Linked DNA regions of Homo sapiens: all the other regions are linked to region 4. The links are contacts of gene promoters, found by promoter capture Hi-C in human tissues and cell types (Jung and others, 2019). All regions are on one chromosome and are shown on one strand. The core of a region is centred on a gene start or on the middle of the fragment in contact, and the rest is flanking DNA. Distances in the headings are between cores, read along the strand shown.

Region 1 (2,708 bases), core at 146-2,645, 170 kb after region 4:
CACAGATGTTTGTAGTGTTACCTGTCTTACCTGGACCACAACCACTTGGATGGAAACATGGTCTGGGAGTCGAATTGGTGCGCGGAAATACTGAGACAGAGCAACGAGCAGGTGTAAGATGGCCACCAGGCTCTTGGCATGAACAGCTGAAATGAAAGAAGATTGAAAAATTACAGCATCTTCTTCCAGGTTCTAGGCAATATAAGCAGATGTTCAAAGTGTAGTAGTACCCCACTGATAGAGTTTGGATATTTGTCCCTGCCCAAATCTCATGCTGAAATGTAATCCCCGGTGTTGGAGGTGGGGCCTGGTGGGAGGTATTTGGATTGTGGGGGTGGATCCCTCATGAATGGCTTAGTGCCATTCCCTTGGTGATAAGTACACTCGAGCTCTCACATGTGATCTGGTGGTTGAAAAGTATATGGCACCTTCCTGCAGCCCACTCTCTCTCTTGCTCCTGCTTTTGTCATATGAAGTGCCTGTTCCCACTTTGCCTCCTGCCATGAGTAAAAGGTCCCTGAGGCCTCCCTGGAAGCCAGGCAGATGCCGGCCAGTTTAAACCTCTTTTATTTATAAATTACCCAGCCTCAAGCCTTTCTTAATGGCTATGCATGAACAGCCTAATATATCCACCCAATGTCCCTTTATACCATGCCTGAGGGTCAGGGGACACCTGTGGTCATCACAGGCCTCACTCTGGGCCCCCTCAAATCTTTCTTTTTTTTTGAAGCAGGGTCTTGCTCTGTTGCTCAGGCTGGAGTGCAGTGGTACAATCCTAGCTCACTGCAGCCTCGAACTCCTAGGCTCAAGCAATCCTCCCGCCTTGGCCTCTGTGGAGTAGCTGGGACTACAGGGATGTGCCACCATGCCTGGCCCCCTCAGTTCTTTGCCAGGTCCCATGGGGCTCCTTCTTGGGTCATATTATTGCCAGATTTCCAATGTGGCACCTCTCTAATCCCAGGTTCCCATGAGGATCCTGACAACTGCTGAGCTCTGAGCTCAGATCAGCTCTCTCCCGGTCCCATGTCCCTGCCCACTCCACTCCAATCACCATAAGCATGTCTGCTCTGCACTCCCTCTCCCTTCCCACTTAACCATGAACTCTGGATTATCACTACTACCCTTGTCTCAAGACTGCACATAAAGCACGCCCTTAATAAATAAACATTGAGTCAGGAACACTAGGTCTCTTCCTTGGTTCAGGGCTTTAAGATCCCTGGAAGAAGCCATGAGAGAGACATTCAAAGGGCTATGTTACTTGGCTTGAGTGTCACTATGGTCACTGTAGGCAATGCCCTTTAAGGAGCAGCTGGGACGGGATGTTACTGAGCCAGGGGGCTGCCAAAGCTGCTGAGTCATGTGCTCAAAGTCAAGCCATTTACACCAGAGAAGGCAGGGTCACACTGGGTTGTAGTTTTCTCACTAGATGAGGAGAAAAAGACTCAGTGAGGTGCACAGAGGGTCAGGCAGACTGGAGCCTGAATTCTAACTTTATAATCTACCACTTATTTACTGGCTACATGGCCTTGGGTAGGGTAGGCCACCGAAGGCCTCTGAGCCTTAATTTGCTCATCTTTACAAATGGAGGTAACAGAACCTATGTGGATGTACAGGTTGTAAAGATTCCCCAAAAGCCTTCATTAAAAAAAAAAAATGAAAATAGTTACACTAGAGTGGATAGTCTTAATTTTTTTCCTATTTCAAAATATTCTTTAGAATAAAAATCTGCCATCTTTTCAATTAAAACAAATTCTAGCCACTGTTGAACATTTGTGTGCCCCTATCATTCCTGCCTCTCGACATGTCTCCTGGGAGTTTTCTCTCTGATGCTCCTGGAACACAACAGGTGGCCAGGAATGGCTGATTTTTTTTTTTTATTATACCTTATGTGAAATTACCTGGCACCTAGGCAACTAAAACATGCCAGCTTTATTCCCTTTCTTTCTCATCAAAGGGAAGATTCATCAGATATTTTGCCTGCCTTCACAGTCCTACCAGCTTCACGGCTCTTCATTACAGGGGGCATTTAAGGGAATAACAAAAAAAAAATGCCTATTTTGTGTACTTCGCATGCACTAGGCCCATTATTAGGATGTCATTCTGTCTTCCCTGGGATCAGTGAGTCTGATTTAGCAGAAGCTTTGAGAAATCACTAAGAAAAGAGAATGATTCAGACATTCCTTTGTAACTCATTAGGGTTTCTGGTTATCACTGCTACTTCAAAGAAGGTTTTCTACTGATTATGAACAGCAGCTCACCATCACCACAAACAGAAGCTGAACTGCTCTGAACTCCTAGCCTTCCAGAAGGTTTCAATTTTGGGCTTTCGGGCCTTGTTAACTAAGTTTTACCCAGACTTACAGCCTCAAAAAAAGATCCTGATGTGGCACTGACCCACTGTGACCCACTGACATGGTGTGGTCACCATCAGAGGCAAATCCAGGTTTGCTCTTCTCATCAGAACTACCGGCCCACCACCTGGCGTCACTGAGGGTTGTAAGAACATTTGCTACCCCTCTCCCCTTTAATGGCAAAATATAATGCTAGAAAAGTTGTGATCAAGTAAGTTGTTCTTATACCCTGGTGACATTGTACACCATCTCCATTGTCTTAGTGAGCAATGCAGAGCTATACCATAAGCATCATATAGATGTCAGACTCATTCAATGAATGCTCTATCCTCCTGGGATTTTTTTTAGAAAGAAATA
Region 2 (2,781 bases), core at 7-2,506, 200 kb after region 4:
ACCTTAATAAAAGCAGCGTCCCATCTTTCCATTTTATTTTTTTTATTGACTCTGGCCTCACCAATTGCCAGCATAGACTTGCAAGAAATCCTAAGCACAAGGCAGCCACTTACAAAGAGTTCTTTCACCTCAATACACTCACTGATAGCTGCAGTTGGACTGGAAGGAGACTGAGAAACAAAGGGAGTGAAACACTCTCTACGCCCTAAGAGACACAACTTGCATGGCGAGGCTGGTATTTAGTACCTTTGCAGCAGGTCTTTGACATTCACATAGGGTACCAGCCAGTCACCACCTTGATCTCCACATTCACAGACACCGACTATTTCATAGAATTCTCCATAAAACATGACAGAAACACAGAAGGGGTACCTTCAAAGCTTAAATCAAGCTTGTCCAACCCACAGCTCACGGGCTGCAATGTGGTCCAGGATGGCTTTGAATGCAGCCCAACACAAATTCATAAACTTTCTTAAAACATTATGACATTATCTGGAGATTTTTAATAGCTCATCAGCTATCATTAGTGTTTAGTGTATTTTATGTGTGGCCTAAGACAATCCTCCTCCTTCCAATGTGGCCCAGGGAAGCCAAAAGATTGGACATCCCTGGCTTAAATGATTCTGTAGGTACAGATTGTGTTTGTTTTCCAGCTAAGCACAACTGTTTCCTTAAAATTCTATAGTTTCTTCTAATATCTCCCCTAGAACTACCAGTTTTCTTTCTTTCTCAGGCTATTTCTCACAAAGAAGCACAATTTTCATTACTTTGTTAACAAGCATTGCTACGCAAGGAGTGAGCAGTGGAAATAAAGTCATGTTTAAATGTGGCTGCAAGGCTAGGCTTACTGGCCAATGAAGGAACTTGCTCCTGCCTGGGACTTTCTCTCCTGTAGCTACACTGATCGGCACTGTCCAATACAGTAGCTACTAGCCACTTGAGCTATTTAAATTTCAGTGAATTAAAAATTCCGCTCCGTAGCTGCACCAACCACATTTCAAGTACTCAATGGCCACAGGTGGCTGGTACCTACAACACCAGACAGCATGGATGTAGAAAGGTTCCATCACAAGATCATCAAGTATGTTCTCATGATTTAAGTGAGGACATGCCATATTTGGTTTTCTGCTCCTGTTAGTTTGCTAAGGATAATGGCCTCCAGCTCCATCCACGTCGCTGCAAATTACATGATCCTTTCTTTATTCATGGCTGCATAGTGTTCCATGGTGTATATGTACCACATTTTCTTTATCCAGTCTATAGTTGATGGGAAAATAATCCATACAACAAGCCCCCAGGACACAAGTTTGCCTATGTAACAAACATGTACCCCTGAACTTAAAGTTAAAAAATAAAATTTTTAAAAGAGTAAGTGGATAATGTCCTAGGTCATCCCATTCAACTAATGTCCATGTCCACATTTAAATCTCCAGCCTGGAGCTCCAAGCTTATGAATCTAATCACTTATTCAATGTCTCCTCTTAGGTCTACTAATAGAGATCTCAAATGTACACATCCAAACAGAACTTGTGATTCTCAACACCCTCATACCCACCATACCAGCACTAAAATGAACCTGTTCTTTATTCTTATCCTCTTCAGTAGATGGCACCACTGTTTACACCATGGTTCACGCCAAGCTCCGAGGAATCACTCTTAAGTTCTCATTTTCCTCACCTTTTGCATCTGTCCAAAACACTGGCAAGTATTGTGGGCTCCGCCTCCAAACCAGGACCCAATTCCAAACACTTCTCACCATCTCCCTGCTCTATCATCCTGACTTGAGCCACCGTTATCTTTTGCCTGGCCTATCAGAACCACCTTCTAACTGGTCTACTGCTTTGCTTGCATTTCCCCCACTCTCACCTACTTCCCACAGTGCAGCGAGAATGTTCTACAAAAATGTAAATAGGATCATACATTCTCCCACTTCAAGCTTTCTTGTGACTTCCCATCATACTCAGGTCATAGGTAGGAGCTGAGGTTTTATTCTATGAGACTCTGATTAGCGCCCTCCCACCTCCCTCTCATGTTTTATTTTCTCATCATGATCTATTTTCTCATCATGATCTGAAATAAAAACTTATATGGCTGTTAACTCTCTCCCTCACCAGAATGTAAGTTTTGTAAGGACTGGCACTATTTCTCTTTTGTTCACTATTAGATCCCCCATGAGGCCAGAGGGCACAGTGGTTAGAAGCCAAGCTGCCTACGTTCATATCCAGACTCTACCACTCACCAGCTCTGTGGCCTTGGGCAAGTTCATCAACCTCTCATGCCTTAGATTCCTCACCTGCAAAATGGGAGTGACAGCAATATTGCCGACCTCCAAGGGTTGCTGAGAAGACTAAATGAGTTAATATATGCAAAGTACCCAGAAGCATGCCTGGCAGCTGGTAAGAGCTAGGTAAATACATGCAACTATTATTATTACTTAAAACAACACCTCAAGCATTGTAAGCACTCAAGAAATATTTGCTGAATACATAATCCAAACTGTCAAGACCACCCTTCAACTGCACAGGTTATGAGTTGAGGCAGAATTTGCCAAAGCAGAGAATGGGATGCAAAGGATTTTACCTTTTTCCCAGAAAAACAAAATACATTTCCATTTTAGCCTGACTGTGTGTGCGCACATGTGCGTACGCATGCACGCACATTTCTGGGGCAGCATTTCCAGCTTACATTTTATAAGGTAAGTAAAGTCACACCTGTCCCAAGACTTGTTGTATAGCCAAAGTGAGCCAATTTGTAAATGGAGAGGTATTGAAACATCTCTAA
Region 3 (2,759 bases), core at 188-2,687, 240 kb before region 4:
TTTTTAATTAGCCGGACATGGTGGCATGTGCCTGTAGTCCCAGCTACCTGGGAGGCTAAAATAGGAAGCTTCCTAGAGCCCAGGAGTTTGAGGCTGCAATGAGCCATGATTTGTACCACTGCACTCCAGCCTGGGTAACAGAACTAGATGCTGTCTCAAAAAAAAAGTAATTAAAAAAATTCAACACTAACTTCACCAATTATTTAGGACTCAGGCCAACAAAGGAGGTTTTGTCAGTTAATATGGTGATAATAAAAAGAAAATTGATTTTTTAGATGGTTTTGCCATTGTTTGTAAATTCCCTACAGCCAAGCAAAGTCCTTACTGCTTGCAGCTGCGGCAGACCATTCCTACCACCTCACCATTGGTTTACCATTATCTCTTAGAACTCCCCAAACAACTTTAATATAGCTTCCATTTGGAATGGATGATCTGTAGTTACAATGATAGAATTATTCAAAACAAAGTTATTAAAGAATACCCAACCTACCCTCAGAAACCATCCCAACAAATTACATGTTTTAAAGCTGTCAAAGTTAACAGTTTTACATAAAATTAAAATATACATTCAGAAAAGTACACAAACTGGAAGTTTACAGCTTGATTAATTTTCATCAAGTGAGCCAGCACCCAGATGAAGAAATGGAAGTCCCTCTCTCCCCCAAATATCCTTCCTTCCAGGCACAATCATCTATACACCTTGCCAGCGTAACCATGATCCTGAAACATCACACATTAGTTTTGTCTGGTTTCTGAACTTTAAGCAAGTGCAACAGGGTTTACAGTGTTTAGTTTTGTTTACTCAGCATTTTATTTGTGAGACTCAACCATGTTGTTGTATATAGTTCATTCATCCTCATTACTGTAGAATATTCCATTGAATGAAAAATGCCACGATCTATCCACCCTATTACTTAGGGACATTTGCGAGGCTTCCAAATGGACCTATTAAGAAGAGTGCTACTATGAACGTTCTTGAATATGCTTTTGAGGGACATATGGATGTGTTTCTGTTGGACGTTCCTAGGAGTGTAATTACTCGGTCATAGAGTCTACGTGCATTTTATCCTTCATTTAGATAAGAGGTAGGGAGAAACAGTCTGAGAAAATTCTCTATTTAATTATTAGTGTAAATTTAAGAGATTAGATTTTAAAAGGCTTCCCAACTAACAGTAAATAACCAATTTGCCATTACAACTGCTTTGTAATTACCCTTGAACATGGAAAATAATTATGTAGCTATCCAACCATATCACAGATGCTCTTCAGGAATTTTCTAGGAGGAAGTATTGATGTAAAATATAATTATCAAGATATATATATAATTATCAAGATATATATAATTTTATATATATATAATTATCTGTCAGCTGATAGTGTTATGGCTATTCCAGAAAGAAATGCAGTCACTGAACTCCCATGAAGTGAAGGTAATATCAAAGAAAGAATGCTAGCATTAAGTCAACAACAAAGAAGTCTGGGATTTGCAGAGTTCATTATCTACCCTACTGACACGTCCCCCCTCCCAACTGAAAATCACTCCAGGTGGAAAGCAAACCTATTTCATGTAGTTCTGAAGGCAAGAAAATGAGTTTTTAAAAATGTACCACTATCAGAGATACAAACTATTTCTGCCTAATCAGCTTTTACCTAACCACAGGATATTTTCTAAAAGTAAATAAAAACAAAAATCCAAGAAACAGTTGAAAACTAGTAAAACTTATCTTTCCAATAAATTCCAAAGTCAAACCATATCCCATCTTCTGGGCACAAGCTAGCCAAAAAGGCTGGTCATAGGCCAGGTTCTGCAGTGTTAAAAAACAACACTTAGAAATATGGCTGGGGAAGGTAAGTCCAGGGAAATGAGTCCTTCTAAGAAATCTTCTCCCTGTTTGCTCTAGAAACAGAGACCCTAAACGCTAAGCTGAAACTTAGTTCAGAGGTCAACTCTCTCCTACCTCCAAAAGCAGAAATCCTTTCCACAGCATCCTGACCTGCACTGCCTTAAAGCTAAATACTTTCAGACACAGGAAAATCACTTCAATAATGCTGCTGGGCCAGGCACGCTGGCCACTTACGCCCAGGAGTTTGAGACCAGCCTGGGCAACACAGCAAGACCCCATCTCTATTTATAAATAATAATAATATTGCCAGACAGCCTTAACTGTTAATGCTTTTTTCTGTTATATTAATTTTCTCTGCTACAAATTATCACACATTTAGTGCCTTAAAACAAGACAAACTAATTATTTTATATTCCTGTAGGTCAGAAATTTAATTCAGCTCCAGGCTGGCTAAGATCAAGGAACTAGAAGGGACGCAACTCCTTACTAGACAGAGGCTCTGAAGAGGGTTCTGTTTCCTTGCCTCTTCCAGCTTCTGAGACCACCCACATTCCTTGTCCCGGAGCCCCTTGCTCCATTTTCAAAGCCAGAAACACCAGCCGAATCCTTCTCACATTGCCAGCTGTCGTCTCTCTGGATGTCTTTTTTTGTCTCCCTCTTCTGCTTTAAGGGACCTTGGGACCATGCTAGGCCCACTTAGATAATCCAAGATATTCTATCTGCTGATTAACAACTTTTAATTCCCCTTTGCCATGTAATGTACCATTATCCACAGATTCCATGGCTACAGAGGAGGCATGTCTGGGGATCCATGATGCTGCCTATTACATCTGTTAAGTTGAAATGAGCTCCTCTGTAACTTCCATCCAGAACTTCGGGTACCACAGACCGAAGAACACTTCTGTAACACAATTC
Region 4 (2,700 bases), core at 161-2,660:
GATTTCATTTATTTTCATGAGAGGGGAGGTGTGAGTCCTCATTGTTTTCGACTCATTAAAAATATTGCTTTGATTTTTTAAAAATACAAAAGTTATTTTTTTAAAAAGAAGAAAAGTCACAGAAGTTAAACTTTCTTTAAAGCGGGACTCTGGACTTTTGAAAACAAGTGTTGCTGTTACGAACAAAGACTAGAAGTGTACCCAGATTTTCTCCCCCCCGGGGATCATTTCTCTTCCAATCAACAAACAAATCCCCCAGTATTTCCTACCGAAAGGGAAGGGAAGTTTTCCAGGGAGAGTCTCCTCCTGGGTTTGGTGGTAACTGCGACTCAGTCTTTTTTGGACACAATGTTTCTGCTGACTCCTGAAAATTTTCCACTTGAATGTGCAATGAAGCGGCGGCGGCAGCGGCAGCAACAGTCCTGGAGAAGCGGCAAAGACGACCGTGCCCTTTTTCATCTTTGAGAAGAAGGAGCGAACCCCCCGCCAGCGGCACAAGTCTGCGCAGACCCGGGCCGGCCTCGGGGGTACCCGGCGCCGGGGGGCGGCGGCGAAAGCAGGGGGGTGCAGGCCGGCTCCGGGCTCCGAGGCGGCGGCTCTGCCCGCCCGCGCTCGCTCCGAACTTCTGGCTCCCCAGCGCACCCCGTCCAAGGCGCCCGAGGGTGTGTGCGTGTGTGCGCGTGCAGGCGGCGGGAGAGGGGGCGCGCGGGGGGCGCGGCGCGGCCGGCCGGGGGCCGCCTGTTGCCGCGCGGGCTCCCAGCGCGCGGCCCAACTTGGCGTCCTGGCAAGTCGCGCGGCGGCGCCCGGCCGCTCACCTCGGAGGGGGCGCGGGGAGGCGGGTGTGGGGGCCCGGCCGCGGCCCTCCGCGTGCCCGCCCGCCGTCGCACACAAAGCAGAGCCCGCAAAGAAAGAGCGGCCCGCGAGGGACGCGCCGCCGGCCCCCCGCTGCCCCGTGCGCCCCCCGCACCCCAGCATCCGCCCCGCGCGCCAACTTACCTCGGCCCAGGGAGCCACCGCAGCGCCCGGCGAGTCCGAGGCAAACTTCGGCGCCGCTTCCCCCGCCCTCTGCTCGGTGCCCGGCTCCCTCCCCGGCTCCCGGTCCCTGGGCCCGGCCACCCCACCCCTGCCTAGCACCGCTCCTGCCCCGGGGCCGGCTGGCGCGCTGGGCTGCTGCCCGCGCTCCGGGCAAAGGTGGAGGGGTGGGGGGGCGTCACTGCATGGCCTGTGCCTGGACGCGGCCGCCCCGGGCCCGGGCCCCGCCGCGCGGAATGGCCCGCAGGGTGGAAGCGAGTCTGCAAAGTGCTTGGTGGGCGCCCGCGGCGGGCGGCGGGGCCGCGGCGGCGGCAGCAGAGGCTCGGCTCGGCTCAGGCGGCGCGGCGCGGCGCGAGCGATGCTAAGAATGTTCGGAATGAGGACAGGAATGAAATGAACGCCAGGACCGAACTCGCTCCGGAGGGGTGGGGCCTCGGTGACGTCATGCGGCCTGCCGCCCGGGGCTGGAGGCGGGGCCTGCCGCCGCCGGTGACGTCATGGGGAATCGGGGCGGACCGGCGCGGCTGCTTCGCCGTTGGGGCGCGGGCTTTCGGCAGCTGGGCGGAGTCTCGCGCCCACGGGGGAGCGTGGCTCGCGCGGGAGCCGCCCTCCGTCTCCCGGCGCGGGCTCCGGGCTTTGTCCCGAGCCGGGGCGGGGCGGGGCGGGGCGGACGGGAGCTGCGCGGCTTGGAAGTCCCTGCGCTCGCGCGAAGAACTCTGGAAGCCTGGGTTTCTTCCAGGGGGCAGGCGCCGAGGCGGGAGTTGCGCGCGACGCGCCTACCGTGCCTCAGTTTCCCTAGTCCGGGACGCGGAAGCGCGGGTGACTGCGTTGAGTGCTCCCGGACTCGCGGAAGTCTGCAAGTGTAGGGTAGAGAAGTTGCCTTTCTGGTGATGCAGATTGTTGCTCTCGAGCGCGGTGGACGCCGTCTCCGGGCCAGATTCCCAGCCTGCCATTTCTTCTCTTCCCTTTCACTTTTATAAAAGTTCACAGCTCTCACTCAAGTCGAAATCTGTCTTACGGTTGGGAAAGGAAAACCTTTAGCTTAGCAAAGAAGGATAATTACAGAGTTCGTAATAAACCTGCCCTGCTAGCAAGGTCTTCTCCAAGTCAGTTAAAAAACTAAGTTCACTCATCTCTGCCGGTTGTACTTTTCAAAAGTAACTTCCTAAACTTTGAAATGCTGCATCCGGCGACTTTAAGTTAGCCCTTTCATTATTGAGAAACTTCATTTCATTATTAAAGGAATCATTTTAACCCTGCCATTGGAGGTAGTGACGCAAAAGTGACATAGACGCAGTCGGTAAATCAGAAAACGGGTAAAATCGACCCACTGGGGACAGAACCGTCTAAAGTTTCGGGTGATTGTTATAATTATTTAACAAACTGCAAAGCAGTTCCCGCACAGTGGACCTCATTCGTTCTAGGCACTTGGCTCTCTTTTCCAGCTGAGGCCTCAGGATTAAATAACAACATATTTTGTGCCCGAGGAATCCCTATATCCCTATATATGGGTAACTGAGGAGACTAGACTGTGACTGAGTGCAACACATTTCTACAAAACATAACTTTTACTAATACATTGTTTTCCTTTTTTTTAATTTTTTTTTTATTTTATTTTTGGAGACAGGATCTTGCTCTGTCACCTAGGCTAGAATGCAATGGTGCGAT

The links. The method cuts DNA at HindIII sites, captures the fragments that hold promoters and counts their contacts. A contact is called where the count stands out against the background at its distance.
Region 1: a fragment that was not itself captured here is called in contact with the fragment with the promoter of TEAD1 in region 4 in 1 of the 25 tissues and cell types used here (thymus).
Region 2: a fragment that was not itself captured here is called in contact with the fragment with the promoter of TEAD1 in region 4 in 1 of the 25 tissues and cell types used here (aorta).
Region 3: a contact is called between a fragment that was not itself captured here and the fragment with the promoter of TEAD1 in region 4, in 1 of the 25 tissues and cell types used here (stomach).

What each region holds. Positions count from the first base shown.
Region 1 is chr11:12,501,752-12,504,459 of GRCh38, reverse strand. It overlaps PARVA (parvin alpha), which reads right to left. Exons shown (of 13, transcript NM_018222.5): 6 at 31-146. Among named protein-coding and RNA genes, the nearest start is that of PARVA, 130 kb to the right of the region's middle. The HindIII fragment of the contact is 7,128 bases long and covers 1-2,708 here.
Region 2 is chr11:12,469,951-12,472,731 of GRCh38, reverse strand. The region is part of intron 1 of PARVA (parvin alpha); the gene reads right to left. Among named protein-coding and RNA genes, the nearest start is that of PARVA, 94 kb to the right of the region's middle. The HindIII fragment of the contact is 3,267 bases long and covers 1-2,781 here.
Region 3 is chr11:12,916,909-12,919,667 of GRCh38, reverse strand. All of the region lies in intron 10 of TEAD1 (TEA domain transcription factor 1), which reads right to left. Among named protein-coding and RNA genes, the nearest start is that of TEAD1-AS1, 4.6 kb to the left of the region's middle. The HindIII fragment of the contact is 7,007 bases long and covers 1-2,759 here.
Region 4 is chr11:12,673,131-12,675,830 of GRCh38, reverse strand. TEAD1 (TEA domain transcription factor 1) reads right to left here and starts at 1,410. Exons shown (of 13, transcript NM_021961.6): 1 at 997-1,410; 2 at 270-422. RefSeq lists an enhancer at 1-583 and a silencer at 1,419-1,718. The HindIII fragment of the contact is 23,361 bases long and covers 1-2,700 here.